Regions from separate parts of the Homo sapiens genome. Here region 1 is linked to region 2. The links are contacts of gene promoters, found by promoter capture Hi-C in human tissues and cell types (Jung and others, 2019). All regions are on one chromosome and are shown on one strand. The core of a region is centred on a gene start or on the middle of the fragment in contact, and the rest is flanking DNA. Distances in the headings are between cores, read along the strand shown. Region 1 holds the start of TCFL5 (transcription factor like 5). Region 2 holds the start of EEF1A2 (eukaryotic translation elongation factor 1 alpha 2).

Region 1 (6,315 bases), core at 2,449-4,948, 640 kb before region 2:
CAGAACAAAACTGCAGCAGCGTGTGTGTGTGCCCTCGCCGCAGAAGTGGCTCTCCTCCCCAAAGCAGGAAGAAGTAGCGTCCGAGCTTTTCTGCTGCGTGACAGGCTATGCCACGTGTGCGTCAGTGGAACTGTATCCATCAAAGGACCACAGGCACGTGACTGGCAGGCGTGCTCATGTGCACGCGTATGCCACACAAAGCACCCATTTCAGAAGGATGATGAAGCTTTCAGCAGGAGAGAGAGGAATTCGGTCGTTTTGGTGATATTTTATTCCTTAACCTGAGTAGTCGGCACAGAGGCTGCTTTAATACTCATCTTTGTATCTTACAAATGTGAACATATACTTTGGCATAAAATTTTATAGGGAGGAAAAGGAAGGACTGACATGGGAGAAGGCGGTAGCTCTTCCTCCCCATCTTGTCTTCACCAACTCTTGGAAAGCTAAGTGTAAGGAGTGTTCTTTTTTCGGGTCACTTCACAAATCAGTTTCCCAGGGAGGAAGGGGCTACGCAGGTGTTTCCCAGGGAGGAAGGGGCTATGCAGGTGTTTCCCAGGGAGGAAGGGGCTACGCAGGTGTTTCCCAGGGAGGAAGGGGCTACGCAGGTGTTTCCCAGGGAGGAAGGGGCTACGCAGGTGTTTCCCAGGGAGGAAGGGGCTACGCAGGTGTTTCCCAGGGAGGAAGGGGCTACGCAGGTGTTTCCCAGGGAGGAAGGGGCTACGCAGGTGTTTCCCAGGGAGGAAGGGACTATGCAGGTTAGCGCAGCAGTGCCTTCAGCAGTGACTTTATTTCCAAACTTTCCGAATCACCTTACAGCCTCTCCCTGGCAGCCCTAATAGGGTCCTCCTATTAGCAGCCACCTATCCAAAGGCTTTCGGCAGATGTTAGATGACTGCCTCACTCATCGAGTATAACATAAGGAAAATAAAAAACTATAAAGTACTTTCAGTAACTTGAAAATAACTGAAAATTTATGTAAGTCTATCACTTTACTGTTAAGAAAAAGCCCTCAAACGCAACGTTCTCACACCAAGATTAATTATGTTTGAGAATCAGAATAATGTTTAAAGCGAAAAGACAGGGAAGCGGGTGGACAGACCCCTGAGATACACAGACACCTCCAAGACTGTTTCACATGTGTACAAACCATCTGTCTCCCCTGCCCCCCAAGGCCAAAATGCCATCAGCCACAGGGCTCAGTCAGAAGAAAGCTCCCACTACCTGCTGCTTCATCGCTTACCTCCCACTTTAATCCAAACTTGCTCAGGCAAAACTTTGTTTCTACTACCTAACGTCTGTTTAGTGGATTCAATTTCTTGCTGATAACAGAAAGAAAATGCTCTAGGCAATCCAATATCCTGGTGCTTGGCAGCTTCAAGTACAGAACATGAGTTACTAGAACTCTGGAAAAAAATGAAGCAACAGGAATTTTATCAATATGTGGCTTACTCTCCTCTTTACTGCACAAATGAAATGCACTTAACAAACATCAAAACTACTAACACGTAATTTGAAGAACTTTAGTTGCACTGAAGATTTAAAAATATTCGCATACCACATAAACACTCAACTTTCACAGGTATTTTTTTGTTTTTGTTTTTTTGTTTTTTTTTTTGAGACAGGCTCTCACTCTGTCGCCCAGACTGGAGTGCAGGGTCGCGATGTCAGCCCACCACAACCTCCACCTCCCAGGCTCAAGCGATTCTCCCGCCTCAGCCTCCTGAGCAGCTGGGATTACAGGTGTCCGCCACTACCACCTGGTTAATTTTCGTACGGGGTTTCACCATGTTGGCCAGGCTAGTCTTGAACTCCTGAACTCAAATGACCCACCCACCTCGGCCTCCCAAAGTGCTGGGATTACAGGTGTCGGCCTTGGCGCCCGGCTTAAAAGGTTATTAAGCTCACTGAAGGGAAAAAAAAGTACTTGGGACCTAACCAAAATAAGTTAAAATTTACCCATTTAATACAAAAGAGCAAAGCTTCACAAATCATGTTCCCTACCTGTGTCTGTGAAAGATTAGAATTTCCACTAGTAGAGCAAGCATTTGTAGTAAACAGTGGGTATGTAAATTGCAAAGCAGTAGTTGTAGCCGCAGTTTTATTTTTCACTAATGCTGTACATTTGTTTTGTTGCTGAAGAGGAACATTCATTAGTTCAGATGGATGTCGAATGAGAGTTACCAAACTGCCAAGACAAAAGAAAGCCCAGAAGTGTCAGCAATACGTGGCAGACAAGCATCCACCATCCCACTCCCATGGCTCTGGCTAGTTTTTCCAGACAGCAACCCAACTCTCATCCTGGAAATCTCTACACAACAATTAGCAACTATCGCTGCTGTGGAAGTCCTCCTCTTCCTATGGAGGAAAAGCAAAACTGCGCCACCTCCCTGCTCTCATCACATCCTGACACCAATCTCACTTTTGCCATCCTCCAGTGTGACCACGATGGGCAACTACAGGCTGGGATGAGCAGAAAACTGCGGACGCAGCCCCTTCCACAGCCATCCCTGAGGGTCGCCAAGGGGGCGGCTGCAGGCTGGAGCCTCATTTTAGAGCTCAAAGCCTGCAAACCCCCGTCGGGCCTTCCTAGGCTTCCCTGACATCCAAGAGTGCCACCCGGAGCACATGGTTCCCAGGAATTCTGCGCGCTCGGCCCCACTCCAGGCGGGGCCACTGAGGGAGGGGGTGTTTAGTTTCTGGAAGTACCTGCTCCCCGGGGCCCGCACAGCGCACACAGCCTTTCGGGGCGGCCCCAGACCCGGTGAGGTCCGCGCCCTGTGCCGCCGGGAGGGCAGGCTGGGGGCGTGCACAGCGAGGGCCCCCTTTGCCTCCGCCCCGGCCCCGGCCCCGGCCTCGGCCTCCACCCGGGCCCCGCCAGCCCCCGGCCGCCGGGCACGCACTTGTTGAGCGCCCCGCCCGGCTCGGGGGGCTCGGGGCCGCGCGGCGCGGGCGGCGGCTCGGCGGGGATGCTGTTGAAGCGGTCCTCCAGGCGGACGCGCACGGCCGGCTTGGCCCGGGCCTCGGGCGCGCCGTCGGGTCCAGCCGCAGCCGCAGCCGCGCCCGCGCCCTCCTTGGCGGCGCCGTCGGCCCGGGCCCTCGCTCCGTCCCCGCCGCCCGACGTCTTCTCCGCCGCGCCCGCCTCGCTTAGCAGCATCATGCGCAGCTCCTGGAAGTCGATGTGGCCCAGGCAGGGCGCGTCGGCCGCCAGCGCGGACGGGCACAGCACGGGGTACACGGGCGCCGCGCCCCCCTGACCGCCCGCCGCGAAGCCGCCCGCGCCTGCGCCCGGGCCCGCCGCCGCCAGCAGCGCCGAGTTGAGGCGCGTCTCGAGCTCGCCGTCAGCCGCCGCCTCCATGTGCGAGCAGAGGATGTGCTGCAGCTGCGTGTACTCCACCTCCGTCATCTCCACCAGGCTCAGGTCGGTGGTCGTGAAGCTCAGCCCCGGCTCGCCCAGCGCCGCGTCCCCGCCGCCCGCGCCCTCGACGGCCGCCTCGCCGCCTGCCGCGCCTGCCTCCGGCGGCGGCTCCCGCGGTCCGGGGCCCGACATGGCGGCGCGGCGCGGCCCAACGGCGGCGAGGGCGACGCGGGCGGCGGGCGGCGGGAGGCGGGAGGCGGGAGGCGGGAGGCGACCCCCGGCCCGAGCACTACTCTGCGCCGGCCACAGCCGGCGCGCCGTTGGGGGAGGGAAAACCGCTGAGTGCCGCGCACAGCGCCTGCGCCGCCCCGCCCCGCAACGGCAACCCCACCCCTGCGCCAGCCCCGCCCCCTCCGTTACCCGCCGCCGCCGGCCCCGCCCCCGCCCAACCGCCCGCACGCCCGGCCCCGCCCCACGTCGGCGGATGCTTGCGCGGAGGGCCCGCCCCCACGGCCCAGCCACGCCCCCACAGCTAGGCCACGCCCCCAGCTCAGGCCACGCCCGGTTCCCAGCCACGCCCCTGCTGCCCGGCCACTCCCCGCTGAGGCCCGGCGAGGGCGGCTGCGCTGGAATCAGCGTGATACCTACGCGGTGACACCCTGGGGAGAAGCCACGTCCGTGCGTGCACGTGCGCCCCATTACAGCGGCAGGAATGAAGACGTTGTCAAAACAGCTCCCTGGACCCACAGTCCACAGTGCCCAGGCCATCCGCTTCATCCGCGTAAAATGCGCAGCGCATGGCCGGGTTCTGTGGCTCATGCCTGTAATCCCAGTACTTTGGGAGGCCGAGGCAGGTGGATCAGGAGGTCAGGAGATCGAGACCAGCCTGGCCAACATGGTGAAACCCCGTCTCTACTAAAAATACAAAAATTAGCTGGACGTGGTAGTGCGTGCCTGTAATCCCAGCTACTCGGGAGGCTGAGGCAGGAGAATCGCTTGAACCCGGGAGGCGGAGGTTGCAGTGAGTCGAGATCTTGCCACTGCACTCCAGCCTGGGCAACAGAGCCAGACTTCATCTCAAAAAAAAAAAAAAAATGCACAGCGCGACGGTGGTGGTACATTCCCAGCGCTGGGCCCGCCTCCACCGCTGCATTCACCACCGGTCTCCTGTAGCAGTCAGCACACTGCCCCTCCCCCGCCTGCAGCCACTAATCTTCTGTGTCCAGGAGTTTGCCTAGGCTGGGCCTTCCCTGTTAAGGGAACTATGCAATATGTGGTCTTTAAGAGACTTATTTTTGCAATCTTGAAATAATTCCTGTACTTAACCTCTCACCCACATTCCCATCTCACTCAGTGGTTGTCTGTTCTCTGTCTAGGCATTAGGACACTTAAAGGCCTGTGACTTGCACATCGTCTTCTAAGCCGGGTCTGAATCTTTCGCTCATTTCATCACAGTTTAGACACAGACCAATATATTACAATGATTCAACGATGGGCTATGAAAGCTCAGCCATGCAAATCTAAACTCACACATGTATACATGAAAATAATATATCAGTTTTGGGCAAAACATCAGGTTTCAGAAAACACTACCAAGGAGGAAAGCAAGGACTTAAAACTCTCAAGGACATGGCAACAGAAGTCGTCTAACGTAAAACAGAGAGGGAAGGCTAAGAGAGTGAGCAGAGCATCAGTGAGCTGTGGGGCCGCTTCAAGCAGTGTGATTTGAAGTCCCCTGGGGGTGGAAGGATGGGGAGAAAGACATTTTAAGAAGTAATGATTGCCAGGTGAGGTGGCTCACGCCTGTAATCCCAGCACTTTGGGAGGCCGAGGCGGGCAGATCCCTTGAGGTCAGGAGTTCGAGATCAGCTTGGCCAACATGATGAAATCTCGTGTCTACTAAAAATATAAAAAATTAGCCAGGTGTGGTGGCATGTGCCTGTAATCCCAGCTACTCAGGAAGCTGAGGCAGAAGAATCGCTGGAACCCGGGAGGTGGAGGTTTCAGTGAGTAGAGATTGCACCACTGCACTCCAGCCTGGGAGACAGAGCAAGACGCTGTCTCAAAAAACAAAAACAAAACAACAAAAAAAAATAATGATTGAAAAGTTTTTTTAAAACTACAAACCTACAGACCCAAGAAGTTTAACATACCTCAAACTCAAGAAACATGAAGGAAACTACACCAAGATGGAAAGCAAATTGCTTTATTTATTTATTTTTTTATTTTTTGAGATGGAGTCTTGCTCTGTCTCCCAGGCTGGAGTGCAATGGCACGATCTTGACTCAGCACAACCTCTGCCTCCTGGATTCAAGTGATTCTCCTGCCTCAGCCTCCTGAATAGCTGGGATTATAGGCATGTGCCACCATGCCTGGCCAATTTTTTGTATTTTTAGTAGAGACGGGATTTTGCCATGTTGGTCAGGCTGGTCTTGAACTCCTGACTTCAGGTGATCTGCCCACCTTGGTCTCCCGAATGCTGGGATTACAGGCATAAGCCACCGTGCCTGGCCTCAAATTGCTTTAAATCAGTGAAAAATCTTAAAAGCAGCTGTACACACACACACACACACACACAAGACATTGTGTACAGAGGAACAAAGATAAGAATGATTACAGGCCAGGCGCGGTGGCTCACGCCTGTAATCCCAGCACTTTGGGAGGCTGAGGCGGGCGGATCACAAGGTCAGGAGATCGAGTCCATCCTGGTAAACATGGTGAAATCCCATCTCTACTAAAAATAAAAAAAAATAGCTGGGTGTGGTGGCACAGGCCTGTAATCCCAGGTAACTCAGGAGGCTGAGGCACGAGAACCGCTTGAACCTGGGAGGTGGAGGTTGCAGTGAGCCAAGATCACGCCACTGCCCTCCAGCCTAGTGACAGAGCGAGAGACTCCTTCTAAAAAAATAAATGAAAAGATTGCAGTGATTGCAGACATTTCTTCAGGAATAATGCAAGTC
Region 2 (6,201 bases), core at 1,419-3,918:
AATACCACCGTGTTTGGGGCTGTCAGATAAATAACCCTCTGTGTGTGTGTGTTTTTTTAAGGTAAGGAGAAAGGAAAACTGAATGAGGTCAGGAGGAGGGCCTGGCCACGCAGCTCCTTCCCGCTGCTCCAGCCTCCCCATCCCTCTGAGGCTTCTCCTCCCCTTCCTCGCTCTGCCGGACACGGGAAGCTGGGGGGCCTCGGCCAGTGAGACCCCCACAGAAGGGGACGGGCTTCAGTCAGGGCAGCAGCGGCGGTCACTACCCAGCTGGGCAGAACTCCTCGCCAGGGCCTCGCACAGACAGGACTCTGCCCTCCAGGAGGCTGCCCAGTCTGGAGCAGACCCAGATGGGACCCAGCTGGGGCCTGAAACAGCGGCCCTCTGAAACCCCCGCCTCCTCCTGACAAGGCCAGGTAAAGGGTGATGCAGCCCAAACTCAGGGGTGCAGCTCAGAGCACCCCCAACCCCGCCAGGGCAGAGGCTCAGCCCAGGACAGCGAGTGCCCCCACCTTGGGCCCTGGCCTCCGCCCTCATCATCCAGGTGAGAGCTCCCACAGGCCCTCCCAGGAGTGGGCTTCTCCCCAGAGTCCTGGGTGGGGGATGGGGATCAGAGAGCAGACCCCGTCTCATGACCGCTCCCCACCACCGTCTCAGCCACCAAAGAGAAATCGCTTCAAAAGGTCAGCTAGGAGGTCACCTCATCCAGGACCCCCACCCCAGGGCTGCCCTGGACAGCAGCCCTCCACAGCCCAGCACAAGAAAATGGAGCAGACGGGCCGGCTGCCCATCAATCAGCTATTAATAGTAGCGTGTGCCCTGGCAGGGCCCTAGGACAAGTGAGGGCAGTACCATCTCCAGCCCCAGCCTTGGCCCTGGGGGGAAGGGGGTAAGGCTCCAGCGCCCTCCAGCCCCAGCTCAACATGGCAGAGTTCCAGAGCCTTCTGCAGACCCTCCCAGGTCACCTCCCTCACCACAGGGCAAGTCCGGCAGCTCGATGGCCACCCCTCCCCCACCAAGCTCCCCCTAAGAGAGAGGCTGCCCCACCAGACCCTCTGAGGCCTGAGTGCCCCACAGCGGGGGTCCCTCCTGCCCTGGAGGAGGTCACCTGAGCCCCATGCCCTGGGGCTGGGAGATGCCAAGCCTGGCCACCACGGGAGTTGGGGGTTCCTTCTCAGGGGGCCAAGACCATAGCCTGGGGAGCTCACCTCAGCCGCCTCCTTCTCGAACTTCTCAATGGTCCTTTTGTCAATACCTCCGCATTTGTAGATGAGGTGGCCCGTGGTGGTGGACTTTCCGGAGTCCACGTGGCCGATGACCACGATGTTGATGTGGGTCTTCTCCTTGCCCATTTTGCTGGGAGTGTGAGGGGCTGGCGGGACCCGGGGTGCTCTGGCTCAGGGCGAGGGGGGCTGCAGTGATTCTGTGGGGCCAGTGGTGGTGGGGAGACCGGTGATGGGGAGCCCCAGGGGGAGACACCAGCAGAGACTGTCCTGGCACAGGCTGGACAGGCATCCCTGCCCACAAACCAAGCCCCCATGTTTGGTGGGGAGGGAAGGGCCCCCACCCACAGCTGGGCCTGGCCAGGGCAAGCAGAGGCTGTGCACTGCCCCCACCCCACACTTGAGCCCAAACAGCCCCATCTGCTGTAAATAACTGGGCGTTGGAGCCCGCGGGCTGCTCCTTGGGAAGGGGTTAGCCACCATTTGGAGAGACCACGCAGCGCCAGGCTGGGTACGTCCGTGACCAGCAGAGCCGGGTGATGAGTCACCTGCCCAGCGCTCCAGGGCCCTGTCCTGCACGCGCACTCCCCTCCCCGGCGGCAGGGCCAGGGACACGGCGCCCCACCCCCACCCGCTGCCACCGGGGAGAGATGGCCACTGCTCCCCACTCCCCTCCTCAGGCAGGGACGGCGCCATCTTCCCCTCATCCCTGCCCGGCAGGCTGGGCCAGAGCCCCGACGGAGATGCGCTGCCCAGATTAGGAACCCAGAATAGCTCTAGGCACCCCCCTCCCGGACTCTCACAGGGACAGACAGCGGCCGGGAGGTGGGGGTCCCTGTTCCAGCCTGAGGAAGGAGGACCCGGCCCTGCCGAGCCCAGCAAGTGCCAGGTGGAGATGCCCTCGGCCCCGTGGGGGTATAGGGGGCACCCTCCCTCCCCCCCTCCCTGTGACTCAGGACCCTGGGTCACAGCCCTGTCCCATCACAGAGGTCAGTGGAGAAACCCACGCTGCTCCTCGCGGACAGGTGGCTGGGGGAGGGAAAGAGGACAGAAGCCACCCTGGGGTGGGAACACGGGTGGGGGTGGGGAGGCCAGGGCCCCCAGATCTCACCACCTCCCTCAGCGTCCTCTGGCCCAGCGCCCCGAAGCCCGACCCCCATCAGCCCCCGGCCCGCAGGGTCCCCGCGGCCCCAAGGTCACGGCTACGGGGCGATCGCCGCCCAGGACCCGGCCCCGCCGCCCCGCGCCGCCCCCCACCCCGGGCCCAGCCCGGCCGACGCGGGGACCCCCGGAAGCCGGACTCCGGGCGCGCGCGGGGGCGGGTGCGGGGCCCGGCCACCCTCTGCCCCCCAGGACCGGCCCCGGGGGTCCCTCTTCGGAAGACGGGGGCGGGGGCGGAGGCCCGGGGGCCGAGCGTCCTTACCCGGAGCCGAGGTCTCAGCCAGAGGGACTGGCGGCGCCGGCGCCGGCGGTTTTATCTCCGGGAGGGGGTCCACCTATTGACGGTGGCGGCGCAGTGCACCGCGCCCTGCAGCACGCCAATGCGGAACCGCGCGGGAGGGGGCGGGGCGCGGACGCGCGCGGGCGGGCGCCACGGGGACGCGAGGCGATGCGGGAGGCGCGGGCTGCAAAGACGGACGCGGGAGGCGGGGGAGAAACGCGCCGCGGGCGGGGGCGGGGCGGGGGGCAGGGCAGGGAGGCGGCGGGAGGGAGGGACCGGGACGGAGACGGCGCGGGGAGAGCGCGGCGGGCCCGGGAGACGGGGCGAGAGCCGGCTCAGGGCAGGAACACGCTTGAGCCGCGAAAAGCGGTCCCCGGGGACAGGGCAGACGCCGAGGACCGGAGCCGGCAGGCGGGGGAGGGGAGCAGGTGGGCTGCAGCCTGGGAGACGAGCCTGGGTCTACCGGCCCCTCCCCGGCCCTGCTCATGGGGGACGCCCCAGAACCAACGAAGCCCGGCTCTGAGGGGCTCTCCCTAATGAGGCCCGGGGGTGCAGGCCTCAGGGTGGAAATCTGCTGGTTTCCAGTCCCTGTCCTCACGTGCCTGCCCTCCTGGGCGCACCATGACAGGCCCCGAGGATCCAGCGCAGAACCACCCTCCCCCTGAGAGGCTGGTCTCCCACGGTGCAGGGAACGCCGGAAGCCCGCTCCCAGACCCACTGACATCTTCCAGGGACCCTCCCCTCCGGGTGCGCCGACCTCCGGCTGCTGCTGGGAAACAGCGCCAGCCAAGGGCGAGTCAGATCCAGACAGACCCAGGCCCCCCCGCCCAGCGCCCCACCCCGCTGCACCTCAGCGCCTTGTAGCTGATGCTCATATGGGGTCAGGATGCCAAGCCAAAGACCGGGCCACGCTCTGTAGGAAGTGGGGAGTCCCTGAGGTCCTGGCACACGCGGGTAATGACCAACGTGGGTTGTGAGGAAGGGGATGTGGCAGCCATGTGTTGTGTGAAGACCAAGGTTAGGGGCTTTCTCCAGACCCCAAGATCCTGTCGTCTCACCCAGGTATTCAGGTCTTCCCTCCCACGCTGCCCCCCCACCCCCACGCACTCGGATCTTCCTGCCAGCGGGGTCTCGGGAGGTGTGTGCTGAGTGGGGGCAGAGCCCTGGCACCTGTCCTCTCAGCCCTGAGTTCCCACTGGGTGTTGACATGGAGGCCCCGGGTCGGGCCCAGCAGCTGCGACTGGGCAAATCCATGGGGATCCCCAGCGACTGGACCCCTACCTGGCCTGCTGGCAGGTGTGAGGAGGAAGGAAAGGTGGGGGCCCAGGGTCGGGGCCAAACAGTTCTCCCCAGCCTGTGGAGAGGGCCTCTCAGGAGGACCCTGGTCTGTGGCTGCGTCTGCCCCATAGGAGTCCAGGGACTTGGGCTCCTGGGCCACAGGCAGGAGAGGAGGCAGGGAGGGCCTGCTAGGTGCCCCGGCACTTCCGAGTGCTGCCGATGCCGTCAAACAGGAGCCAGGAATAAAAATAACCGCCTGGCAAGAAAGCAAGGCCCGCCCCACCCCACCCAGCTGGTCTCTATATTTAACGCCTCCCCTGCAGCCTGAAGGTTAGGCAGGGATTTGGAAGTGGGCTTGCTGCAGGTGCTCGAGTGGCCCAGGCCGGGGTCCCGGGGATGCCCACCCCACTCCCCCAAGGGATCACCAGGACTCTGGGCTACCTTTTCCAGACACCCCTTCCCCCTCGGCTCCCGGCTCACCCATAGCAGTGCCAGGGGCTCACATGTGCCGTGGGGCCTTGCCACCCACAGGAGTGGCCCCTGAGAGTGGAATGTGGCAACCTCCCCAAAGCACCTGTGTGCTGACTCTGGGCAAGGGTGTCGGTGGCTGCTCCAAAGGGTCTCCCAGGCGCCAGGACACGTTTGGTCCACGGTGTGGCCCCTCGGGGTCCTGGGAGCCACCGACTCAGTTCCGCAGACACTTGGAACACACAGCTAACGGGGCTGCGGTCACAAGGCTAAACACTAACACACTGATGGTTCCGAGCCACCGCGGAGACTGAACAGGACTGAATGGCTACTAACTACGGAATGCTAACTGCTGAATAACGGCAGTGGCCTGACCACGTCCCCAAAGTGCACGAGTTGTAACTTAATCCCCAATGCAACAGTGTTGGGGGCTGGCGCTTTCGGGAAGGAGTCTGGGTCATAAAGGGTTTGCCCTTCCGAATGGATTTGTGCCCTATAAACAGGACTCATGGCAGTGGGTTCTCTCTTGCTCTTCCGCCTTCTCCCATGTGAGGACACAGCAAGAAGGCCCTACCAGATGGCAGCACCTTGATCCTGGACTTCCTGGCCTCCAGACTGAGAAATAAACTTCTGTTTACTTATAATAATTTATAAATTTATAAAGCAAACTTTATAAATGTTTAAATTTAAGTAATGTATAATTACCCAGTCTCAGGTATTCTGTCATAGCACAACAAGCAGGCAAAACACTTGTCAATGGCCGGGTAGCACCAAATGACTTCAAGTACCAAGCATCCTAATTAGTCACAGCCAAGTCGCCCAGCTGTGTGAGTTCACAGTGTGGGGGACGGGGGACAGGGGGCCGTGCACGTGCACAGTGTGCGGGGATGGGGGCTGCGGGGACAGAGGCTACAAGGTAGGCCCCACAAGGCTGGCTGGAGGACCTTGAGAACCTGTGAGGCAACTGGGCACAGAAAGGCCAAGATTCCTGTCCAAGGACACGCAGCAAGTAAGGGGGCCTGTGGCCTGTGCTTTCCCTGCCCTCCCCCAGGTCAGGACTTGGGCCCCTCTTCTTGCATCTGAGTCCCTGGTCACAGTGCCGTCCTCACCAACAACCTGGGGGGGGTGGGGGGAGGGGAAATGGCGAGTCAAGAGGGCACCAGCCAATCAGGGCTTCCCTGGGGGCAGGCCCCGCCCCTCCTCGACCCCTCCCAGAGCCCCCAGGCCCCGCCCCTCCTTGCCGCCTCCCAGAGCCCCCAGGACCCATCCCTGAGCTGTTTGGGGAGACACAGGCAACCCCTTCTTTGGCTGGCTAGGGTTTCACGAGCCTCGGGAAAGAAGATGCAGCTAAAATTAACCGCTATCAAGCTGTCAGCCCTGGAAATAAACCTGCCTCCCATTGGCTGCCGGTGACGTCACTGCTGGGTTAATAATAGCCGCCGAGTGCCTAACGAACCACCTGTGCATGGGGCACAGCCAGGCCATCACCCCGGGGCCACCGTCGCAGGCAGGTGGAGGCTGGCAGCCCAGAGGCAGACAGGGGCTTGGAGGCAGGGTGGGGAGCAAGGCCAAGGCCGCTCTCTGGCCCCCAGTGTCACAGGATGACCTCAGCCCTGGCCTGGCCCCAGAGCAGGTGTGGATTCATTTTCCGGTCACGGAGCATCTCGTCTGCTGGCCCACCTGGGCCCCCTGGACGGCCACCAGGACAAGGCCCACCCCCGCGGCCATGCCTTGGGGCTGGCTCCCAGGGGACTGAGCATGCCCTTGAGGCAGCGAATTAAACAGTCTCCATGG

Evidence for each region. The method cuts DNA at HindIII sites, captures the fragments that hold promoters and counts their contacts. A contact is called where the count stands out against the background at its distance.
Region 1: a contact is called between the fragment with the promoter of TCFL5 here and the fragment with the promoter of EEF1A2 in region 2, in 1 of the 25 tissues and cell types used here (heart right ventricle).

The regions. Positions count from the first base shown.
Region 1 is chr20:62,858,124-62,864,438 of GRCh38, forward strand. TCFL5 (transcription factor like 5) reads right to left here and starts at 3,699. Exons shown (of 6, transcript NM_006602.4): 1 at 2,901-3,699; 2 at 2,002-2,185; 3 at 1,241-1,403. The coding sequence starts at 3,547. It overlaps LOC105372717 (a long non-coding RNA gene), which reads left to right and starts at 3,312. Exons shown (of 4, transcript XR_936989.4): 1 at 3,312-3,418. RefSeq lists silencers at 3,118-3,267, 3,768-3,957, 4,008-4,107 and an enhancer at 3,492-4,146. The HindIII fragment of the contact is 8,054 bases long and covers 1,103-6,315 here.
Region 2 is chr20:63,496,415-63,502,615 of GRCh38, forward strand. EEF1A2 (eukaryotic translation elongation factor 1 alpha 2) reads right to left here and starts at 2,669. Exons shown (of 8, transcript NM_001958.5): 1 at 2,644-2,669; 2 at 1,206-1,420. The coding sequence starts at 1,349. It overlaps LOC124904955 (a long non-coding RNA gene), which reads left to right and starts at 1,868. Exons shown (of 2, transcript XR_007067719.1): 1 at 1,868-2,209; 2 at 4,911-5,054. LOC105372725 (a long non-coding RNA gene) reads left to right here and starts at 5,644. Exons shown (of 3, transcript XR_937004.3): 1 at 5,644-6,040. RefSeq lists enhancers at 1-85, 883-1,052, 1,678-2,473, 2,734-3,303, 5,400-5,905 and 1 more. The HindIII fragment of the contact is 29,943 bases long and covers 1-6,201 here.